Regions from separate parts of the Homo sapiens genome. Here region 2 is linked to region 1. The links are contacts of gene promoters, found by promoter capture Hi-C in human tissues and cell types (Jung and others, 2019). All regions are on one chromosome and are shown on one strand. The core of a region is centred on a gene start or on the middle of the fragment in contact, and the rest is flanking DNA. Distances in the headings are between cores, read along the strand shown. Region 1 holds the start of GLRB (glycine receptor beta). Region 2 has its middle 8.7 kb from the start of LINC02272.

What was found. Contacts are between HindIII fragments. The study calls those that stand out against the background at their distance.
Region 2: a fragment that was not itself captured here is called in contact with the fragment with the promoter of GLRB in region 1 in 2 of the 25 tissues and cell types used here (dorsolateral prefrontal cortex and mesenchymal stem cells).

The regions. Positions count from the first base shown.
Region 1 is chr4:157,070,552-157,077,937 of GRCh38, reverse strand. It overlaps GLRB (glycine receptor beta), which reads right to left and starts at 1,788. Exons shown (of 10, transcript NM_000824.5): 1 at 1,641-1,788. RefSeq lists a silencer at 4,387-4,681. The HindIII fragment of the contact is 3,601 bases long and covers 1-2,680 here.
Region 2 is chr4:156,647,485-156,654,870 of GRCh38, reverse strand. No RefSeq gene overlaps it. Among named protein-coding and RNA genes, the nearest start is that of LINC02272, 8.7 kb to the right of the region's middle. The HindIII fragment of the contact is 5,478 bases long and covers 248-5,725 here.

The DNA of each region.
Region 1 (7,386 bases), core at 539-3,038:
GTCCCTTTAAAGAGTATAAGCATTACTACCCAAAGGGCAAGTACATTTGTACATCAAATCCTCATTGCTCAGTCCTATGTGGTAATACTTCACAACATATTTAGTATTTTTTATATAGTAGTTGTAAAGTCTTTTTTATATAGCAGTAAAAGTCAGTTTAAATAATGGCACATAGAAAACAAGACCGCCAACGAGATATAATAGGTTACTGTATAAAATTTCTGATTCTATAGCTACACAAAATTATAAATTGATATTGAATTGCACAGTATATCAAAAATATGTTCAGAAAGATATCTGGAAGCATGGTTTAACACAGCGTTAAAATGATTATCTTCGGCTAGTACTTTGGAAGTATCTTTTTCTTTTTAAATTTTTATATTGTTTGAAGTTCTTATGTATATTTTTTCAAAAATAATGTATTTTAAAGAAAAAGAAATTCTAAGTATTAAAAAAGACAGATAAAAGAAAAAGTTAATATCAAAGAGTTCCACATTCAAAATTCATTGCTTTTTTTATTTAAACACATTACATTGGCAAGCTACCTTTTTGCCCCAAAAAGGTGCCTCTTAAGTTAGCTTTAAAGCTTTCTTACTTATTTGCTACTAACATTTGTCATCAAAAAGATTACTTCAGAAATTCTACAACAAGAAATAAAACAAGTGTTGTTACATTTTTTTCAAATTATCGTCCTAGCCATATTTTAATAACATTTTCATGCTCAAATCAGAACCATATTCTTGCCAGAGATTCTGATAAATAAAAAATAATTAAGCCTCTACCTACACTAGAGAAGTTCAAACTCTTCTGCAACCTTCATTTCCAAACCATAAATTGTTTCTCTTTCATTGTTTTCCGCAGAGTAAAAGACCTGTCATATTCTTCAACGCTAACTTAATTCCCATCTCACCCTCAGAAATTTGCTTCTCCTTATGTCATGTTTTTCATCTTCCCCCCCCCCCCCCAGGATTCTTCCCCCCATATTTATCTTTTACACACACTCCAGGCAAGCCAGAGGGGCTTCTCCCTGGGTACTTTAAATTGAAGACAACAGAGGGGGCTCATCAGACCAACAGCAACAACACAAGGTTCTCCTCTGGCAACTTCACAACATTGGACGCTCCCTTCCCCCATCCGACAGCGGCACCTGCTTCCAGACACCTTGCCCACAGCAGCAGGTACTTCTCCCACTTTCACATCCTTGCCCCCGCAAAAAGGAGGGCCGAGCCCCCCTAACGCTTCGAAAAACAGAGAAATTCACCACTCTGCTCTGTCCTCACCCCCAATCTTTCAAGGGGGACAGCTGCATTGACTGGAGGATCCTCATAAACAAAACAACGCAAGGAGCCCTCCTGGCCAACCTTGCGTTTCCTAATTACCCCGGCCCTCTGCATCTCTCCACCCGGAGCGTCTCCGCGGGCGCCACCGCAGCGGGGACCCGGCTGCCGCTGCCAGGCGCCCCGCGCCCCTCTCCCGCGCAGGGCAGCGCGCGTCCTCCCGGGCACGCCGCAGTGCTCCTCGCGCTCCGCCGCCCCGGGCTTGACCCGCTGTTTCCGCAAAGGCGTCTATTCCCGTCCTCAGACCACCGTCGCCGCCCCAACCCGCGTCCCCTCCTCCTAAGTGGAGCTCCTGGCACTTACCCGGAGGCGCCCCTGCCCACAATCGCCGGGCGAGATCGTGGAGGCTCCGGGCCCAGGTGGCAGTGGCTGCTAAGGGTGCAGCGGGCGCCGAGCGGGGGCAGCTGCGTCCCAGCCGCCCGCGCCACCGCCGAGCTCGGCTGACGCGCCTGCTCGGGCCGCGGAGCCTGCGCCGTGGCGCGCCGCGGTCGGGGCCGCAGCGGGGACAGCGCGGGCCGCGGGGGAACCTGGCGACCGCGGGCGGGGGAGGGAAGAGGTGTCCCGACAGAGCAACGTCACGGCATCGTCCCCTTCAGGCATTGGAGGGGTTACCGAGCAGAAATGTGTACCCCCCTCACTCCTTAGGGGACTAAAGGAGTTGGGGACGAAGGGCGGGAATGATAGTGTCGGTACAAAAAGAAAAAACCTTTCAAGGAGCTGGGATTGCTTGGGGTCAGCTTTTGACCACTAGCAACAAACAACAGAGCAACAAATGACCTTCTTGGGTCAAAGCGAACAAAACACATTTTCTGTCATTTCACCATTTGCCTGGAACCCAGACATCCAGCTTAATCTCCGGGTCTTCCAATTTCTAAAAGCCTGAACTTTCTGAGCAAGCTTAAATTGGTCAAAATTACTGACAATATAGTCATACAGGTAATACTATGTTTAACATCTGTTACATAATTAACATGTGTACAGAACTTGACAGTTGCAAAACACCTTTCACTCGCCTTATCTCATGTGGCCCTCACCACATTCCTGGGCAAGTTTTGTCATCCCCTTCTGTAGATGAAGAATCTGAAACTCAGTTATATTAAGAGATTTACTTAGAGTTACAGATCTTGAAAGAAATTTACCAGAGATTCAAAATTAGTGATTTTTGCATATCTGAACCAGACAGGGTCTCTGCCTTATAAGAGCAAAATACTGTTGTCCTCATCCTTGTGAAGAAGTAGCCCTTACTTGGATATGCAGCCCTTAGATAACAGATAAGGCTATCCTATTACCTCTTGAATGTATGCCTGATTGATTTTTTTTAATTGTTATTTTTTAAGCAACAGGAGCTCACTTTGTTGCCCAGGCTGGAGTGCAGAGGCACAGTCATCGCTCACCGCAGTCTTGAACTTCTGGGCAATCAAGAGATCCTCTTGTCTCGGTCTCCCTAGTAGAGTAGCTGGAACAACAGACAGGCCATTGCGCTCCACTAATTATTATTATTATTTTTTAAGAGACAGCATCTCTGGCTTTGTTGTCCAGGATGGTCTCCAACTCTGGCCTGAAGCCATCCGCCTGCCTTAGCCTCCCAAGCTGGGGGGCTTACAGGCTTGAGCCACCCCACCCCACTGCACCAGGTCCTGATGGATTTTTTTTATTAAAAAAGCATTGTCTCAAGTGAGCATCACTTAGCATTGTATTGTGGACCCACAGATGTATCCACTAATAAATTTTTCCACCCGCAGCATATGGAGGGAAGGAATATTTCCTGCATATAACCGTGTTCCATAAGCTTCATGAGATATTCTGCTGCCTAAGAGTAGTGATCATTAATAAGTGATCATTACCTTATTTACATTACAAAATGATCATTATTCAAAGAGCTGTACTGTTTGAAGACCCCCCCGCCAAAGTGGATCAGGATATAACTTTGGATTTTAATGCTTTATTAGAGAGAACTATATTGATAATATACGTTTCATAAGATATAACTTTTGGTGAATAGGTCATATGAAGAATGATAAAGGAATTAGTTTTCATGCAGCCAGGGGAGTTTAGAAGTTGGCGAAAACCTTACACTTAGTTTTCAATTAATCAAGAAATTATTAAGAGTTTAGAATAATAGGAATTCCGATTCCTGTAATAAAATGAACATCTTTTATTTACAAACTCTAATGTCCACATTTGGAAGAACTATGCTGAAAATACCTACAACAGACTTGCTCACCTTCCCTAGTATTGTTTCTGTGCCATCCATGGATGTTATATTGGAGAATTAGGTTATTCAGAAGAAAAGCAAGTCCAGCAGGTTGGATGGGTTTGTAGGGTTTTGGCCCAAAGGTTAAGAAATATAGTTGATGCCCTAAAAGCACTTCTTCTAGCCTGTAAAATGGTCAAGTTCAGAATTCTGAAAATTTTTTTCTATGAAAGTGATCTGCTTACCTATATTTCTATAACTTTTATATCATAGTGTGAAAAGGGATGCTTCTAAATAATGTCATGAAATAACCTATTTTCCCCAATTCTGTCAAGTGTTGATCTACTTTTCTCTATTTATTTCTATCAATATTCACTCCTTTAGTAATTTCATCTGGTCACAAGGTTTTAAACACCATGTTGATAGCTCCCATATGTACTTCTCCTGACTAGACATCTCTCCAGAACTCCAGACTCATCTATCTAACTGCCTTTTCAACATTTCAACTTGCGTATTTAATAAACATGTCAAACTCAGTGTGTCCCAAACTGAGCTATGGTTCTCCCTAAAATCTGCCCCACATTCAGCCTTCTCCTTCTCAGTTCACGGCAACCTCATCCTTAGGGTTGGTCAGGCTAAAAATCATGAAGTTGTTCTTGATTCCGCTCTTTTTCTCACACCTCACAACCAAATCTCTGAGGAAATCCTGTTTACTCTCAAATGACAACAGGAATTCAGCTACTTCTTATGATTTTTACTGCAGCCAACCTAGACTCAGTGACTTTCATCTCTACGTTAGATTACTATAATAGCACTTTAGCTACTCACCCTGCCTCTATCATTGTCCTCTCCTACCCTTGAGTAATCTCAAAACAGTAGCCAGAGTGATCCCTTTAAAACATGTCATAGGTCATATTGTGTCATTCCTCAACTCAACACCCAGCAGTTAGTCCCCATTTTATAAACCAGTGTTTACAATGGTCTACAAACCTTCAATTGTTATGCATCTCCTCCCCCTAACTCTGACTTCTTCTCTCCTAATGGCTCGCTCTCTTTCAGCCCTGCTGATCTTGCTGCTTCTCCAACATGCCAAAGCCAGGTATGGTCCCATCTTAGGTTATTGGCTCCTCTGTCTAAAATGCTTTCCCCCCAGACCACCACATGACTGACTCCCTCATATCTTCAACATCAACCCAGATGTCACCGTCTCACAGAGATTTATCCAATGTTATTTAAAAGTGCAAACCATCTCCCATCCAAAGATTTCCAATCCCCCTTTGCCTGCTTTTCTTTTTGTTTTCATAGTACTTATTACCTCCCAACTCATCATACAATATACTTACAGTTTGTGGCCTCTGTTTCCTTGCTAAAATGTAGGCTTCATGAAGGCAGAGATTTGTATCTATTTTTGTCCATTGATGTTGCCCACACACCTAGAATAGTGTTGAATGAATGTGTAAATCTTGGCCTCATTTATTAATTTCTTCAAATTTCATGTTTCTTTATTAGTAAAATGAAAATGACAATGCATAATTTGCAGGATTGTACCAAGAAATAAACAGGTTAATTGACGTTAAAAATCTGCTGCAGAGAAGAAAAGTCACAAAGAATTAACCTCCCCTATTTTTGCTTGTTTTTATTTGCTTAATGGAATGATAGAATTTTGTTGTGGCTGTTTTTTTTTTAATTATTTTTAATTTTTGTGGGTACATGCATTTTTTGCTTACTGGGACCCTGTTATCCATTTCTTTCTTGTACGTCTACACTGAGAACATTTTGTAGGCCTACATCTAAACACTAAAAACCTTCTAACCTTCTTTTCTTTCTTTTTTCTTTTTTTTTTTCTTTTTGAAACAGGGTCTGGCTCTGTCGCCCCGGTTGGAGTACAGTGGCATGATCTTGATTCACTGCAACCTCCTCCTCTCATGCTCAAGCAAACTTCCTACCTCAGACTCCTGGGTAGCTAAGGACTCTATTTTCTATGCATCCATCTTCACCTGGCCTATAATATATTTATTTTATTTGACTTGATAATAAAACCTAAATACAGCCCTAAATATCTTCTGTTATACTAAGAAATCAAACTTTGGATACAGAGAGAGTATTCTCACCAAATCATTTTTTGTGTGTGACATAAGTACTCATCACTGTTGCCATTGCCTAAATAGCCTTACAACATGGTTTAAAGATATAAATTATTTTTTTCTGTATTCTCTCTACATGAGTCATACTTCCTCTTTAATGACAGCCTGCACTGTAATAGTCATTCATGAAATTTTTCATCAAACTTTCAGTCCATTTACCACTATAATGATCAGATATTTTCAATAAAAGTATGTCCAGCTGTTTTAGATATGGTTCTCCTCCAAATCATCATCTTTAAACATTTATCAAAATAGATAATGGGAGAATAAATATAAATAAAGAGAAAATTACAGCAGAAGATGATGAGAATAGTGGGACAGTAATTCAGCATCTTGCAAACACTGTTCATAAAACTTGAAAGACAGTAAAACTTACATTAGGAAATGTTGATTTGTAGCCAGTCTTATTAGAATAATAAAAACATTATTTGATATTTGATAAAATCACTTCCATATGTTTTCTTCAAATAGCACATTATCCTTAAAATGTTCTGCAATCTCTTATTTTTAAACTAACTTTTAAACAATAATAGCCATCTTTCATTGATTACCTATTAATTGCAAAAAAATTTTCTACATTATGGTTTTAAAACTTCAAAATTTACTTGCAAGTTATTTTCATATCCATATTTTTGATGAGAAACCAGAGGAGAGGCTCAGAAAGGGAATTTAACTTATCCGGAATATTAGACTTGGAAGAGGAAGAGATAGGATTATTTCATCTTTCATGTCCTTTACAACATTAAGACTGACTCCAATTGCACATAGGCAAGTGAAAGAAGCTTAGTTTTTAGTCGTAGATGTCTTTGTACAGAATACTGAATGCAAATTAAAAAATTGAAATCAAAGGGGTTGTTCTTACCTCCAATTCCAGATTGGCCTTAAAGATGAACTAATATGTGAGTCATTTTTTACTTAATATTTTGGCCTTAAAGATGAACTAATATGTGAGTCATTTTTTACTTAATATTTTTTCTGTTCATCATATTAATAATAGCAAAAATAGTAATGACCATCGTCATTGATTGACAGCAAAGTACTTTGAATTTATTATCTCCTCAATACCTTTATGAGGTTAATACTTTTCTTGTTGCAATTTACAGATAAAGATCCCCAGGCATCATATAATTTTTCCGAAGTCAGTTTACTAGTAAGTGATTGAGAGAGATATGTATCTAAATATGTCTGATTCTGGAAGCTGGCCCTTAAAATATTTTTGTGTGACTCTAAATTGTATATTCAATAACGTCTTATGATACACAGAATGACAATACTATTCAACCAAAATACCACACTAATTGTGATGATATGAGAAGAGAGAAGAAATGTGGATAATATATTTCTATTTACAAATTTGAGTGTCACACTGTCTTTCATTTAATTGAGGAAACAGTCCAGAACAATTAAGTAGCCCACGTTAGTATCTACCAATCTGCCAACAGTGCTTACCCCCATGGGGAAGAACCATGTGTGCCTTGATGTGTGTGGACTTAAAACAGATATCAAGAGTGTAATGCATTGTCAAAGTATTCACTGCTATGACACAGCTTTTTAGATAAATTAGACATATATCCTAAGTCCTTAGCAAAAAGTAAAAACACCTTCCTGTATGAAAATGACATGTTATTATTAGTGTATTTCAAGAATATGTCTTAAAAACAAATAAATCTATTGTTATTCAGAGTTCTATTATTAAGGCAGTGTCAATATT
Region 2 (7,386 bases), core at 1,737-4,236, 420 kb after region 1:
TTTTTTTTCTTTGAGTGGCGAGGTTAAAACCTGATTAGTAATGGCTCAAATCTCAAACAAATGTTTTGCTTGGCACCCTCCAGTGCTTTTGTTACTAGTTGAATTATCTCTGTATATTTAAAAATTGCAATGTTGTAAACGAATATGTAGATTTCTGGCTTTTCTTGAAATTTGTTGATCTGGCCCACATTGCAAGGTAATGAAGTGTTGGAGTCCAGTAGCTTCCGCCCTCCTTGAATAGTATATTCAGTCATGCGTCACTAAACTGTGGGTATACATCCTGCGGAAAGTGTGGTTAGGCAATTCCACTGTTGTGCAAACATCACAGAGTGTACTTATGCAAACCAACATGGAATAGCCTACACACACTCAGGTTGTATGGTATAGCCTATTCCTCCTAGTCTAAAAACCTGTACAGTCTGTTACTATACTGAATACCATAGGCAATTGTAACACGACAGTAAGTATTTGTATATTTAAACACAGCAGGCCGGGCCTGGTGGCTCACACCTGTAATCCTAGCATTTTGGGAGGCCGAGGCGGGCGGATCACGAGGTCGGGAGATCCAGAGCATCCTGGCTAACACGGTGAAACCCCGTCTCTACTAAAAATACAAAAAATTAGCCAGGCGTGGTGGCGGGCACCTGTAGTCCCAGCTACTCAGGAGGCTGAGGTAGGAGAATGGCGTGAACCTGGGAGGCGGAGATTGCAGTGAGCCCAGATTGCGCCACAGCACTCCAGGCTGGCGACAGAGTGAGATTCCGTCTCAAAAAAAAAAAAAAAAGCAAAGATACAGTAAAAATATGGAATCTTACATGTCCATATCTTACGGGTCCACTGTCACACGTGGTCCATCATTGACCTAAAGGTTGTTACGCTGTGCGTAACTGAATTTGCTCTCTAGTACAGAGTCCTCCCCACCACTCCCTATTCATTAAGCCTGGCCCTCTTTATATATCTGCCTTATTTCTCAGGCCCTGTGATCACTTGAAATTGTGATCATTAATCTAGAGACTTTCACCTATATTATTATTATTTATATGATATATGTTATTTTTAGATAAAGTTTCATGATTTCCTACATATTTACACATGTCATTGAACTAATTTAACATTTACTGTAAGTCTTATTACATGATGAACTATCTTTTAAAAATTATGTTTGATCAATTTTTAGCTGTTAAAATGGTTTTCTATTAATTTTTGTAAGCAACATACGTTAGCGTAATCTCTTTTGAGCTCTTGCGTATTTGTAAATATCTTCTTTTTCTTGTGGGCTGTACACATAACAACCACTTGGTAGGATATCCAAGTTGTGGGGTTTTTTTGTTTGTTTTACCATTTGAAAGAAGTGTTACCTGATTTTTATTAAATTTAAAAATGTTTGGGTGACTTTAGTATATTTTCTTTATCATTCTAACTTCATTTTTTCTTTTGGGTATGCTAAGATATAAGTCTCTATAATTTTTATGCTCAAAGATTATTGAGCGTTTTTGATCTATAGGTTGGTCATTTATTTAGGGTAGGAACTTTTTCTTTCATAAATCTTTCATTATTCCTTCTGTTTTAGACATTGTGGTTTCTTTCACAGTAACCTCTACTATTGTCTGGTTGTATTCTTATTGCATGTCTTTCAAAATTATATATTCTTATGTAATGTTTTCCTTTCTTTACACCAATTTTCCTCTGCGTTATTAGGAAATTTATCTAGCTGGTTCTCTAAATTAGGATTTTATTTTTATTCTTTGTCAATTTTAATTTTTATCACCTCTAATATATATTTTATTATTGCTACTATGATTTTTCTTCACTAACTCATCTTATTTTAAAAATTATTTTCTTCAGCCTAAAAAAGGTGGTATAATCAATATACCAAAAATTGTACCTCATTAAGGTATACAATGGACATACCTGTAACACAAGTAACTATCACCACAAAGTAATACACATATCTATCACCTTCAAAAGTTTCCTTGCATTCTCTTTTTTGCAGTAAAAACACTTAACATGAGATCTACAGTCTTAACAAAATTTTAAGTGAGCTATACCTTACTGTTAACTGTGGGCGCTATGTTGTAACAGCAGATCTTTGAGACTCATTCATCTTGTAGAATGGTAACTTTATTCCTCTTGAACAACCATTCCTCATCGCCACCTCTCTCATGCCCTGGTAATCACCATTCTGTTGTCTACTTCTATATAGCAATATTTTCAATGTCACATATAAGAGGAAACAAGCAGTATGTGTTCTTCTGTGGCTGACATTGCACTTAGCATTGTGTCTTCCAGGTTCATTCGTGTTGTCACCAATGGTAGGATTTTCTTCTCTTTTTTAGGGCTGAATAATATTCCATTGAATGTACTTACCACTTTTAAAAAAACTACTCATATGTCTTTGGACATTTGGGTTGTTTGACATCTTGGCTATTATGAATACCTGCTGCCATGGACATGAGAGTGCTGCTATGTCTTCAGGTTCCTAAGTTCAATTATTTCAGATATATACCAAGAAGTGGAATTGTTGGATCATATGGTAATTCTATGTTTAAATTTTTAAGGAACCTCCATACTCTTTTCTATGGTGGCTGCATCATTTCAGATTCTCACTAACAGTGTACAAGAATTTCCTTTTCTCCACATCATCATCAACACTTGTTATTTGTGTCTGTATTTATGTGGGTATGTGTGTTTTGATGGTGTCCATCCTAATAGGTGAAAGGTAATATCTCATTGTGGTTTCAATTTGCATTTCCCTGGTGATTAGTAATGTTAAACATTTTATTTTTGTTTTAAATTGTTTAAAATTTTACTTTAAGTTCCGGAATATGTGTGCAGAATGTGCAGATTTGTTACATAGGAATACGTGTGTCATGGTGGTTTGCTGCACCTATTAACCCTTCCTCTAGGCTCTCTCCCCTTGTCCCCCACCCCACAACAGGTGATGGTGTGTGTTGTTCCCCTACCTGTGTCCATGTGTTCTCATTGTTCAACTCCCATTTATGAGCGAGAACTTGTGGTGTTTGGTTTTCTCTTCCTAGGTTACTTTGCTGAAGATAAGAGCTTTCAGCTTCATCCATGTCGCTACAAAGGACATAATCTCATTCCTTTTTATGGCTGCATAGTATTCCGTGGTGTATATGTGCCACATTTTCTTTATCCAGTCTATCATTTATAGGCATTTGGGTTGGTTCCATGTCTTTGCTATTGTAAATAGTGCTGCAATAAACATACGAGTGCATATGTCTTTATAGTAGAATGATTTATATTCCTTTGGGCATATACCCAATAATGGGATTTCTGGGTCAAACGGTATTTCTGGTTCTAGGTCCCTGAGGAATCGCCACACTGTCTTCCACAATGGTTGAAGTAATTTACATTCCCACCAACAGTGTAACAGGGTTCCTATTTCTTCACAGCCTCGCAAGCATCTATTATTTCTTGACTTTTTAATAATCACCACTCTGAATGGCGTGATGTGCAGTTTCTACATAGTGTCATTGGTCTTTATATTGTGGTGTGTTTTTACAGTGGCTGGTACTGGTTTTTTTTTTCCATATTTAGTGCTTCCTTCAAGAGCTCTTTTAAGGCAGGCCAGGTGGAGATAAAATCCCTCAGCCTTTGCTTGTCTGGGAAGGATTTTATTTTTCCTTCCCTTATGAAGCTTAGTTTTGCTGGATATGAAAAATTCTTTTCTATAAGAATGTTAAATATTGGCACCCACTCTCGTCTGACTTGTAGGGTTTCTGCTGAGAGGTCCGTTATTATTCTGATGGGCTTCCCTTTGTAGGTGACCTGGCCTTTCTCTCTGGCTGCCCTTAACATATTTTCCTTCATTTCAACCTTGGAGAATCTGATGATTATGTATCTTGGGGTTGATCTTCTCATGGAAAATCTTAGTGATGTTCTCTGTATTTCCTGAATTTTAATGTTGGCCTGCCTTGCTAGGTTGGGGAACTTGTGGATAATATCCTGAAGTGTGTTTTCCAGCTTTTCTCCATTCTCCTCTTCTCCTTCGGGTACTCTCATCAATCGTAGGTTTGATCTTTTTATGCAGTCCCATATTTCTCAGAGGCTTTGTTTGTTGCTTTTCATTATTTTTTTCTCTAATCTTGTCTGCATGCCTTATTTCAGCTAGGTGGTCTTTAAACTCTGATATCCTTTCTTCCTCTTGGTTGATTCCACTATTGCTACTTGTGTATGCTTCACAAAGTTCTCATGCTGTGTTTTCCAGCTCCTTCAGGTCATTTATGTTTCTCTCTAAACTGGCTATTCTAGTTATGCGCTCCTCTAACATTTTATCAAGGTTCTTAGCTTATTTGCATTGGATCAGAACATGCTCCTTTAGCTCAGACAGTTTGTTATTAACCATCTTTGGAAGCTTACTTCTGTCAATTCGTCCATTTCATCCTCATCCAGATCTGCACCCTTGCTGGAGGGGCATTGCATTCGTTTTGAGAAGAGGCACTCTGGCCCTTGGGGTTTTCAGCATTTTTTTGTTGATTCTTTCTCATCTTTATGAGTTGTCTAGTTTAGATCTTTGAGGCTGCTGATACTTGGATGGGGTTTTTGTGGGGACTTTGTTGTTAGTGCTGTGAACATCTCTTCATTTTCTTGACCATTTGTATGTTTTCATTGCAGAAGTATATATTTAAGTGTCTTTCCCATTTTTAATAGGGTGATTTCATTTTCTTTTGCTTTCGAGTTGTGGGAGTTCATGATATCTTTTGGATATTAATCCCTTACTAGATATATGGTTTCCAAATATTATCTCCCATTCTGGAAGTTGCATTTTCACTCTGTTGATTGTTTTCTTTGCTGTGCAGAAGGTATTTATTTTGATATAGTCTCATTTGTCTATTTTTTATTTTGTTGTCTGTGCTTTTGATGTCTATCCAAGAAGTAATTTCCAAGACCATCTCATAAAGCTACACTCCCACATGTTCTCTTCTAGGATTTTTACTATTTCAAATTTTATGTTTAAATCTTTAATACATGTTAACTTGGTTCCTGTGTGTGGTGTGAAATAAGGATTCACTTCTGTTCTTTGATGTGTATACACAGCTTTCTGAAAGCTTCTTATAGAAGAGGCTATCTTTTCCCCATTGTGTATTCTTGCCACCCTTGTGAGCAATCAGTTGATCACACATGCATAGGTTTATTTCTAGACTTTATTCTGTTCCATTAGTCCATATATCTATTTTATATCAGTACCATACTGGTTTCATTACTGTAGGTTTGTAATATGTTTTTAAATCAGAAAGTGTAATGCCTCTAGCCAATCTATCTCACTTTTAAAAACTTTGGACCTTTTAAAATATGAATCTTTTAAAGGCTTTTGCACTTGTTTTACATGAAATTCTTCTCAGTCTTTTTGAGTTTTTCTGCAAATGCCATACTTTTTGAACAATTATTCTGGCTGCTTGGTGACTTGCACAAGTATTTAGCCTACAGAATGAGCTTTCCTTTTCCCTGTTCTGCAATGTTTTCTAAGACCCTTTAGTTTTCTTTCTTTTTTTTTTAATTCTTATTTGAAATAGTAGAGATGTCTGCAGGTCTGGTGTTTCTTATAAACACGCCATGTTGACTGCCCCATCCTTAATTCACTGATATCATATAGATTTTTCTAGCACAACTAAATCAACTAAGTCATTGTACTATCTGATATTAGTATGCACAACTCCTAGCCCAATTCTGAATAAAATCTTATCTTTAGAATAAATATTAGATTGCAAAGCAATGGGATATATAAAAATTACATCCACTTCTTAAAAATTTATTGAGAATTTTCATACCATCTACAAATCTTAGCTTGGAGGGTTACATTTTCTAAAATGTCATAAAATCACTCCAATCTTTTTTTTAAACACATTGTATTCTCTTCCTGTTTACTTTCTTTCTTTAGGCTTTATTTTCCAAAAGAATGAAAGAAGTATGAGTGTGTGTGTGTTGAGGTGTTGGGGTGGAAGGTAGGATTAGATTTAGATTAAGAAAGAGGGTGCTTTGGATCAATTGAATGCACCATCTGTTAAGTAGTGGGGTAACTGGTTTTCTTGTTGGTATGTATCTTGCGCAGCTGACCCAGTGGACAGAGATGAAAAGGAAGTTACCAGGTCTTTCCATTTTTCTTTCAGTGGGCAGGTTCTCCACACTTAGACCATCAATTGTACTTTTTGATTTAATCCAATCTGCTTTGTTGTATATAGAATCTCTTCTGAATTGACTTTCCTAGTTTTCAGTTTGGGTTTTATCATTTTTCTGGCTTTCTTAGGCAGTGTGTAGGAAAGTTGTGTGAAATGGCCTTAGGGATAGCTATCCTGATATTTTCTAATTTGATGTTTTGTTTTATTATTTTAATTTGGAAAAGACACTTTTAACAAGCTTGACAACTTTGTTAATCATCCAAACTAGTAACAGGAAGGCCAATGAAAGGAGGTGTAGGGAGTTTGGCCGGGAGCAGACAGAGTGACAGTAATGAAAATTTTGATGTTACAGCAAGATAAATAATTATAAGTAGCAGTAGAAAATGTAAAAGCACATTGAAAATTATATCCAGAGATCTAAATAGGTTTTATAATCAATCTATCATTAACAATATTTTAAACTCTATTAAAAATTATTTCAAATGTGATAATGTGACTAACAGTTTGGTTATAGAAAGATAAACATTTGAAAATTCCTTTTTTAAGAAAATTAATTTTTAAAAAATGTTGTAGATACACAGTAGGTGTATCTATTTAAGGGGTACCTGAGATGTTTTGATACAGGCATGCAATGTGAAATAAGCACATCATGAAGAATGGGGTATCCATCCCCTTAAACATTTATCTTTTGAGTTACAAACAATCCAATTACATTCTTTAAGTTATTTCAAAATTTAATACTTCATGGGGCTTCATTTTATCATCTAAAATATTCACAAAAGAATATCCAATTCCTGTATATTTTTTACTGTATTAGATATTATCATGTATATGTGTATATACATGCACTATCCATGCACACACACACACACACACACACACATATATTTACATATATATATATACACATATTTGCCTTTGACTATTTCTTGTTGCACTTTAATTTAGAAGTGAATATGACTGGTATTAAGATCCATGAGTATAGGTAAAAACATGACACCCCACAACAAAATGGGGAAACATATGATAGGGTTTGTATTTGATATTTTCCTCTACCATCTGGAAAGTATGCTGAAATTTTTCTTTTTGGGATTTCCAGACAGTCTGACTAGTCTGACATCTTTGTTCAAAAAAGATAAAAAGTTCCCTTAAAGCTATGTGGAGCTGTCTCGGCAGTTGCTGTAGTTTCCATCCACCTACTTTTTTGCTTCGTTGTTTAAGGCTATGTCCCAGTGACTCTGAAAGT